Linked DNA regions of Homo sapiens: regions 1 and 2 are each linked to region 3. The links are contacts of gene promoters, found by promoter capture Hi-C in human tissues and cell types (Jung and others, 2019). All regions are on one chromosome and are shown on one strand. Each heading gives the region's core, a stretch centred on a gene start or on the middle of the fragment in contact. The rest is flanking DNA. Distances are from core to core; before and after follow the strand shown.

The links. Contacts are between HindIII fragments. The study calls those that stand out against the background at their distance.
Region 1: a fragment that was not itself captured here is called in contact with the fragment with the promoter of DUSP26 in region 3 in 3 of the 25 tissues and cell types used here (pancreas, spleen and stomach).
Region 2: a contact is called between a fragment that was not itself captured here and the fragment with the promoter of DUSP26 in region 3, in 1 of the 25 tissues and cell types used here (psoas muscle).

What each region holds. Positions count from the first base shown.
Region 1 is chr8:33,640,658-33,643,699 of GRCh38, forward strand. It overlaps the pseudogene BUD31P1. Among named protein-coding and RNA genes, the nearest start is that of DUSP26, 42 kb to the left of the region's middle. The HindIII fragment of the contact is 8,056 bases long and covers 1-3,042 here.
Region 2 is chr8:33,534,680-33,538,129 of GRCh38, forward strand. No RefSeq gene overlaps it. Among named protein-coding and RNA genes, the nearest start is that of SNORD13, 23 kb to the left of the region's middle. RefSeq lists a silencer at 2,969-3,169. The HindIII fragment of the contact is 4,604 bases long and covers 1-3,450 here.
Region 3 is chr8:33,598,425-33,601,575 of GRCh38, forward strand. It overlaps DUSP26 (dual specificity phosphatase 26), which reads right to left and starts at 1,599. Exons shown (of 4, transcript NM_024025.3): 1 at 1,241-1,599. The HindIII fragment of the contact is 23,069 bases long and covers 1-3,151 here.

The DNA of each region.
Region 1 (3,042 bases), core at 261-2,760, 42 kb after region 3:
GCCTTGCTACTGGGAAGGGCTGGGGGTGTTTTGGGAGGTGACCATGACATACTCAGTTCTGGATGTCTTCAACATAGATCACTTTTAGGGACCCAGAGGCTTGGGGAGACCCAGACATCATGGAAGTTCAAAGTCCAGGGTGAAGTGGGAGTGGGGCCAGAGTGGCCACTGGAGGAACAGCTTTTGTGGCCACAGGGCACCCTCTCCACCATGCTTCCGGCTTCCCACTGGCTTTGGGGGACCCGGATCATGAGCAGTGCAAGGACAGGCAGAACCAAGTCCATGTATGTTTGAGTCTTTCCACAAGGTTAGACTTTTACTGATGCTGTTTTAATCATAAAAGCCACAAGCTACACAGGCAATTCTCCTAAATACCACCTGCTCACTCAGTCAGAGCCATGGGCACACAGGTTCAAGCCACTCCACAAGTCAGTCAATATTGCAGACCATTCTTAACAGTATACTTAATCGATATGTAAACGTTATAGATTAAACATTACACATCAAACAAGATTTAACATCAAGAGAAAAGGGGATAGGAATAAGGGTTAATGAACCAGTCCAGGGAGAGCTATGTGGACAAGGAAGATGTCCTGGGCTGATCCAGACAGTTGTCAATGTCTTGCAGGAAGAGTTTTTGATTTGAGCACAGCCTTGGGTGGCAGATGCCAGGTGTCGATCACAAGCACCAGCAAGACGGGGTCTCTCAAGATGGCTAGGGCTGGCTGGTGAAGTCCGGCTCATCTTATCACCCTTGAGTCCTCGGATGAGGGCTGATAATAAAGGGTCATATGCCCTTATCTAGTTGGGTGTTGTCTCCATTGATTAGGCAAACATCTGGTCCTGTTGGCATAATGCCTTTTGAAATGTAAAATAAAGTATTTTTCTAAGATGAAGTCACTTATGTCAAGGGTGCCCTAGACAACCTGGCAGATGCAGTTGGTTCCAAAGTTGGTATCCTGAGTCTGAACACACCACAGGCAGCACAAAGCCTTGTAACTGTCTCTTTTCCACTTGGCAGTCAGGTTTGGATCTGCATAATCTTCTTTCAGATAATACGCACACAGTTCTCTGCTGATGGCTTTCTGCTAATGAAACATCTCTAAGATGTAGCAGGATTTCCAATGAGGAATCCTGAAGGTGGGCCAGAGACACTCCCCTGGCCTCTTTTCTTCCTGAAGTTCTCTCTCAGCTTCATCTTCTGATCCAACTCATCCAATGTTGCCTCAATTGGCTACCAATTATCACAGGGCATTTTCTGACTTTTTTTTTCTTTTTCATTTGCCATGTGTAGGATGTTTGCATTGAGCTGAGTCTGGAGGGTTTGACATGGATAAGTCATTTTGAGGATCCTCTCTCCTTTGCTGTCTGTATCTCTAAACCTCAGGGAGTTCCCATGGGCTATTTAAACAGTTTCCACTTGCTTGGGTCAGCCCAACCCACACCTTATCTCTCATGATTAACTCAAGGATTTTGGGCTTTGTTTACGTCTGCCAAATCCCCTTAAAGCCGCACCTCAACTAGGGTTTGATTGGACAACTGGGAGAAGGTGTGCTACAGACCATCCTGAGAACAAGAGTCAGCGTGCCCAAATCATCACAAAGCTGCAATCGAATCAGTCACAATTCCAGGCTATAAATATGTTTATAAATTTAACTAAAGGACAGACCGAAAATGTTTTCACAAGATTGGTTCTTGATAGGTGAAGCACTTCTTTATACGGCAAGAGTGATGTCATCTTCTGCATAATGTATAGAAAATGAATTCAGCGTTTCCTCTAGCACAGGTGATCCTAGTGAGCTCTCCATGGTTGATGGTTTAGAAGAGTTCTGCTTGGGGCCAGGCGCGGTGGCTCACGCCTGTAATCCCAGCATTTTGGGAGCCAAAGGTGGGTAGATCACTTGAGGTCAGGAGTTCGAGATCAGCCTTGCCAACATGGCTAAACCCCTTCTCTACTAGAAATACAAAAAAATTAGCCGGGTGTGGTGGTGTGTGCCTGTAGTCCCAGCTACTTGGAAGGCTGAGGCAGGAGAATTGCTTTAATCTAGGAGGCGAAAGTTGCAGTGAGCTGAGACATTGTGCCACTGCACTCCAGCCTGGGCGACAGAGTGAGACTCTGTCTCACAAAAAAAAAAAAAAAAAAAAAAAAGCTCTGCTTGGCTTCAGAGCCCTCATTGGTAGAGCTCCTTCTCTAATTCCTCCACAGTTTTGACCTGGCAGGTGCTGTCTGTAGTGGAAGCTTCTGGCAACCTTCTCTCCTAGTTATGGAGAGGAGCCTATGTATGTGAGGGCCCTTTTGGTAGGCTCAAAATGGTCCTTCTAAAGATATTCATGGTGGAGTGTGGTGGCTCACAACTGTAATCCCTGTGCTTTGGGAGGCCGAGGCAGGAGAATTGCTCAAGCCCAGGAGTTGGAGATTACTCTGGGCAGCATAGCAAGGCCCCATCTCCACAAAAACAAAACAAAACACAACACAACAAAACAAAAACTGGCCAGGAGTGGTGGTGTGTGCCTATAATCCCAGTTACTTGGGAGGCTGAGGAGGGAGGATTGCTTGATCTCAGGAATTTGAGGATGCACTGAGCTATGACTACACCACTGCACTCCAGACAGAGCGAGACCCTTTGATTTTTTTAGTTTTTATATATTTTTTTTTATTAGAGACAGGGTCTCACTGTGTTTCCCAGGTTGGTCTCAAACTACTTGGCTGGAGTGACCCTCCTGCCTCAGACTCCTGACTAGCTGGGACTACGGGTGTGCACTGCTGCACCTGGAAATCTCCTTGACTTCATTCAGTTCCAGTGCCCTTTACATTATATTCTGTATGAACAGTGCCTCTCTGGAGTCCAGCAACCCTGTGGTCCTGACTCTTAAAAAATAATATAGAATCACAGAATCTGATCGGGCATGGTGGCTCATGCCTGTAATTCCAGCTCTTTGGGAGGCCAAAGCAGGCAGATCACCTGAGGTTAGGAGTTCTAGACCACCTTGTCCAACATACTGAAACCCTGTCTTCACTAAAAATACAAAAATTAGCCGGGC
Region 2 (3,450 bases), core at 637-3,136, 63 kb before region 3:
CTCTATTCTCTCTCAATTTCTTTTCTTTTCTTTTCTTTTCTTTTCTTTTTTGTGAGATGAAGTTTTGCTCTTGTTGCCCAGAATGGAGTGCAATGGTGTGATCTCGGCTCACTGCAACCTCCGCCTCCCAGGTTCAAGCGATTCTTCTGCCTCAGCCTCCCGAGTAGCTGGGACTACAGGCGCCTGCCACCACGCCTGGCTAATTTTTTTGTATTTTTAATAGAGATGGGGTTTTGCCATGTTGGCCAGGCTGGTCTTGAACGCCTGACCTCAGGTGATCCGCCCGCCTGGCCTCCCAAAGTGCTGGGATTACAGGCGTGAGCCACCACCCCCGGCCCTCAATTTCTTTCTTTTTTTTTTTTCCTCAATTTCTTACATACACTCTTCTGTCTGGCCTTTCCCTACCTCTTGTCATTCTTGTGCTCTGAGCTTAAATGTCTCTTGCTCAGAAAAGACCTTCCTTGTCCATCCCTCTCCTCTGGTTTTACGAAGGTAGTCACTGGATACCTTACGATGGTTGGTCCATGTATTAAATATATGAGTATGCTTGTTTAGGCTTCATCTCCCCCATTAGACTGTAAACATCTTGGGAGTAGGAGCCATTTTGGTCTTGCTCATTGGCACAATGCCTGGCATGTAGTAGGCACTCAATATGTGTTGGCTGTTTAATAAGTTTGAGAAGTTTGATTCTAAGTACAATCATCCACATCAGACTTCTCTACAAATTGTATATTCAGTGGGCATCAGCTCTGCCCAGTGAAAGAAAGCAAACCCGGAATGCAGTGCTTGTGACTTAGTACAGGCTCAGTAAGGGACAGCTGTATTAATTGGGATAATGGCAGGGGAGGGATATACACAAACTTCCTTATTTCTTACAGACTTTTCACTTAGTCCCCTTGTTTAGTTGCATGGCTTCCTATGACCTTATTTTATTTATTTTTATTTTATTTTATTGATTCATTTTTTTTTGAGACAGAGTCTCGCTTTGTCACCCAGGCTGGAGTGCACTGGTGCAATCTCGGCTCACTGCAACCTCTGCCTCCCAAATTCAGGTGATTCTCCTGCCTCAGCCTCCTGAGTAGCTGGGACTACAGGCGCATGCCACCATGCCCGGCTAGTTTTTGTATTTTCAGTAGAGACGGGGTTTCACCATGTTGGCCAGGATGGTCTCGATCTCCTGACCTCGTGATCCACCCGCCTCAGCCTCCCAAGGTGCTGAGATTACAGGTGTGAACAACTGCGCCCTGCCCCCTGTGACTTTAGAAACAAAAATAGCATGACTTCAAGTCTTTCATATACACTTTTTTATGTACTCTTCTTAATCACACTCTGAGGCAGTTACTATATCTCCATTTTACAGAGGAGAAAAAGGAGGCTTAGAGAGATTAAGGAACTAGGCTGAGGTCTCCTGGCTAATTAGAGGCAGAGCTGGGTTTAAAACCCATTCTTTGAATTCCAGGGCTAGCTTTGTTTATTCCACACTACAAATTAATCTCATAATGAGGCGTAGAAGGGAAAGATCCCATGTTTTCCCAAACACAGCCACATTTCATCACTGACTCTTGTCAGTGAACCTTTTGTTCCTCAAATACTAGGAACAAAAATCATTCATTTGGAACTGTTCTTTCTTCCTCTGTACGTGCTTCGTGCATTTCTCTTTGTAAACAAGACTTTAAATAAATTACTTCTAGGCCAGGAGCAAGGGCTTATGCCTGTAATCCCAGCAATCTGGGAGTCCAAGGCAGGAGCATCACTTGAGGCCAGGAGTTTGACACCAGCCTGGGCAAAAAATCGAGACCCCCATCTCTACTAAAAAATAATAATAAGAAGAAAACCAAAGAAATTACTTCTAATTGTTTTATTCTATAGGCACATCTCACTTAAACTTATTTACATGCAGATCTTAGTGTTTTAAAGTCTATAAATTAAGTAAAAAACTCCTTAAGTCTCATTTTAGAGAGGTTTTAGTTGTAAAAAGGCTCGACATAGACTTCTTTAGATAATGAAAACCCCTGGCATGTTTCAGGCAATTATTCAATTCAATGTGCACAGCTTCCAGAACACAGAATGCAGAGATGCCCAGAATTAATGGTCTGGCAGCAAGTCTGTTTCTCATGTTTTCCAATCTGAATGTATAAATTTTTAATCTTACAAACCTGTAATGAATGTGTTGGATTACTGTCTTTGCTCTATTGTCAGCATATAAAGAGACTCAGCTTCTTGGCAGAATGATTAAGTTAAGGATATTGCATTCTAACCACAAGGAAACACAGATCTCCTCCTTGTCAGCATTCTTCCTTCCAAAAAGGTTGCTTAAAGTGGTGCTTAAAAGATAATTCTATCCTAAAACACAGTGACTTAGGAAAAAAAAAAAGAGAGAAATAAATAAAGATAATTCTAGCTTACTAAATTTAGGGTGTGGAAAAAGTCCAAAATGAGAATATTCACTGGGTAATTGTGCAAGGAATGTTAATATGTGTGATAAAGGGAGGGTATTCTACCCACCTGATGCTTGCCTCTGCACCCTCCCCCCCACTTCCGTTTTGCCTTGACATACAACATACAATTTATCAAGGTTAAAAGTTAAATGAGGGCCAGGCGTGGTGACTCATCCTGGTAATCCCAGCACTTTGGGAGGCCGAGGCAGGTGAACTGCTTGAGCCCAGCCTGGGCAACATGGCAAGACCCTGTCTCGATAAAAAATATAAAAAAATTAGCTGGCTGTGGTGGTACAAACCTGTAGTCCCAGCTACTTGGGAGGCTGAGGTGCGAGGATCACCTGAGCCCAGAAGGTCGAGGCTGCAGTGAGCCATGACTGTGCCACTGCACTCCAGAGCCTCGGTGACAGAGTGAGACCCTATGTTACTCTGTTCTCATGCTGCTATGAAGAATAACCCGAGACTGGGTTATTTATAAAGGAAAGAGGTTTAATTGACTCACAGTTCTGCATTGCTGGGGAGGCCTCAGGAAACTTACAATCATGGCAGGAGGCAAAGGAAAAGCAGGCACCTTCTTCACAGGACAGCAGGACGGACAGAGTGAGTGCAAGCACGGGAAATGCCAGACGCTTAAACAACCATCAGATCTCGTGAGACTCACTATCATGAGAACAGCATGGGGGAACCACCCCCATGATCCAATTACCTCCACTTGGTCCTGCCCTTGACACACGGGGATTATGGGGATTATAGGGGTTACAATTTAAGATGAGATTTTAGGTGGGGGAGCAGCCAAACCATATCAGATCATGTCTCAACGAAAAAAAAAAAAGAAAGAAAGAAAAGCTAAGTGAGGCAGTCAACTCTTTGTCACTGCCACCACATTTTAAATATGAAATAGGCTGTGTGCGGTGGCTCATGGCTATAATCCCAGCACTTTGGGAGGCCAAGATGGGTGGATCACCTGAAGTCAGGAGTTCGAGACCAGCCTGGCCAACATGATGAAACCCTG
Region 3 (3,151 bases), core at 349-2,848:
GGTGGATGGTGGGGGAATTGACGCAGGGTTGGAGTGTTTTGTCTGTGTGTGTCTTGAGGGGAGGGGGGACAGGGGTGGGTGGTGGGGGCCTAGAAAGCAGGAAGGAAAGGGAAAAATGAGGGATCCTGCCAGGTCCAGGGGCTCAGAGGCTTAGAATTACCAACCGTATGGCTGTTGGAGTCAAGTGACCCTACAAAACACGAGGTCAATAACGAGGGGCTTAGCAGGTGTGTCTCAGATTACCTGTTGAGCTGCAGAGCTGGGAAGGACCAGCGTTTGAGGCTTGCCCTGGGACCTTCAGGCAGGGAGGCAACAATGGCAAGGCCCCTTCCCCCTCCCTCCCCATCCTCTCACACCTGTGGTCCTGCCTGTTTGAAAGCAGGAGGTCCTGGAGCCTGCAGAATCCCCTTCCACTCCCTTCCTGGCCTCCTGCCAGGGGGACTTCAACTCTATGACCAGCAGTGAGAGGCCATCTTTGTCCCTGCCCATGCTCTGTCCCCATCTCACACCCCTAGACAGGGCCCAGCTCTCCCTTGCTCCAGTGCCAAGAGAAACCAAGCACTTACAAGGCATTAGAAGCAGGGGTTTTAGGACCAGGATTGGTGAGGGAAGATTGGATGTTAGGGAGTTTAGGGAGAGAGAGTTTTCAATGGCTGGGTCCGGAAGGAGCACAGAAATATAGCACTACAGCCATCATCACCACCACCATCACCATCATCACTACCACCATCACCACCATCACTATCACCATCATCTTCTTCTACCTTTGCACCCAGGCCTAAAGACCCCATTACTGTATTGCAATACAACCTTTCCTCTTAGAGAGTCTGCTGTCTACGAGATGATGAATGGGATGGGGGAAGCGTGAAGGAGCCCAGGTCTAAGAAGGATCTCCGTGGGGCTGTTTTTCCCGGGGGATGCAGAAGCCCCTTTCTGTCCAGGGATACAGCCCTGGGCATTCTCCAATCCCATCCGTCGGCTCCAGGGGCCCTGGCCCGCCGCTCCCTCCCTCCGCCTGCGGTCGCCTTTGTAACAGGTCCATGGCTGTCGCCCCAGTCCTCGCCAGCCTGGCAGCCGGGCCCCGCGCGCGGAGGGAGGGCGCCCGGGAGAGAGAGGCTGGCTCGCTGGGCTCGGGTGCCCGCTTCCCGGTCCCCTCCCTCCCCCGTCGCCCCTAGCTGGGCGCCTCTCCCCAGCGTGGAGAGCCAGCTGAAAAGGCGAAGGCCCGCCGCAGCCCCTCTACCTCTTTGCAAGCGCTGCGCTGGGCCTCAGTCCGAAAGGCGGATCGCCGGCGCAGACAGCGCCACGGCCATGACGCTCCTGCTGCTGTCGCCGCCGCTGTTTCTGCCCAAGACAGGTTGACAGATTAGCAGCTATTTTTAAGCCATGACACACACGTCGAAGCAGGGTTCAAATCAGCGTGTGCGCTGGTGACATAAAGGGACTCGGTCTCACATTCGGTGGCCCGAGTCGCCAGGCAGCGTGGGCTCCCCAGCCAACCCCCCACGAGCCCGCGCGCCTTGCAGACCAGACACGGCCCCGCCGAGCCCCAGCAGCACCGCCTGGAATGCATGCGTGTGTTCTCAGAGCTGCACCAATTACAAAGCGTTTTGCCTAAAGATTACATTATAAGTCATCCCAGGCACTGTCTTAAACACACACACTCCTCCCAGACAGAATTAACTAATTACATAGACACGATTCTGTGCACTGGCTTGTACATGCCTCGGTCTCAAGAAACCGTGTCATAAAGAACAATGGTCCGAAGCCCCCATTAGCCTTCATTATATGCCATGTGCTTCATTTAGCTTAAGGCATTTTATACTCCCCACAAGTCTATGAGGGAGACATAATTACTATTGTCCTAATTTTAGGGAGGAGGCGACCTAGGCACAGAGAGGCTAGGTACTCTGCCCTGGTCACACAGCTCGTTACTGGCAGAGCTGAGCTTGTTCAAACAATGCAGCCTGGCTTTGCAGTTTATGTCCTTAACCACTCTCTAAACCAGTGCCTCCCACAAAATGGAGAAGGCACCATGGATTTCCTTCATTCAGGAAGCCATTTCCACCAGCTCAGCTCATAGTGAACTTCACTTTCCCCAGACTCTCAAAACATTCATCTTCATATTTCTTTCTTTCTTTTTTGAGATGCAGTCCCACTCTGTCGCCCAGGCTGGAGTGCAGTGGCGCAATCTTGGCTCATTGTAACCCGCCTCCCAGGTTCAAGCCATTCTCCTGCCTCAGCTTCCCAAGTAGCTGGGATTACAGGCGCCCGCCTCCATGCCTGGCTAATTTTTTGTATATATTTTTTCTTTGTTTGTTTGTTTTTTAGTACAGATGGGGTTTCACCATGTTGACCAGGCTGGTCTTGAACTCCTGACCTCAGGTGATCCACCCACCTTCTCTCAAAGTGCTCAGATTACAGGCATGAGCCACTGTGTCCGGCCATCTTCATATTAATTTCTCATGTGCTGCCTTCTAGTGACATATTCACTTGATCGGCATTTTTATTGTAAGCACCAAGATTGTAAGCACTTTGAAGGCAGGGACTGTGCTACCTTCCCCAGTGCCTACCTTATTGTGTGAGAGGGAAGTGGGGGAGATGATAAATGTTAGCAGATGATGCTGTTGAGAACTAGGCTGGCTTGAACTCTCGCTGTCTACTAGAAGAAAGGCAGAAAGTAGATTGGCTCAGATTGAAGCTGATGGTGTCAGCTATAGCTGAAACCAGGACTGACTCCATTCCCAGCAGTGGTGGCAGATCAGGTTTTGATCTCTGGGTTAGAGAAAGTACTGGCCAATGTGACCAATCCCCAGGTTCCATGACAGGCTGCCATCCAAGTTTAATGTACCGCCTAGCCTTTTTTTTTCTCTAGAGAAACAAAATTCTTTTCACTTTTCCTTGTCCCTTGTGTTACAGCAGTTTAAATATGAAATGAAATCCTTGTCATTTAAAACAAAGAGGCAGGGCATGGTGGCTCACACCTGTAATCCCAGCACTTTGGGAGGCCAGGGTGGGCAGATCACCTGAGGTCAGGAGTTCGAGACCAGCCTGGCCAACATGGTGAAACCCCATCTCTACTAAAAAACAAAAATTAGCCGGGTGTGGTGGCAGGCGCCTGTAGTCCCAGCTACTTGGGAAGCTGAGGTGGGAG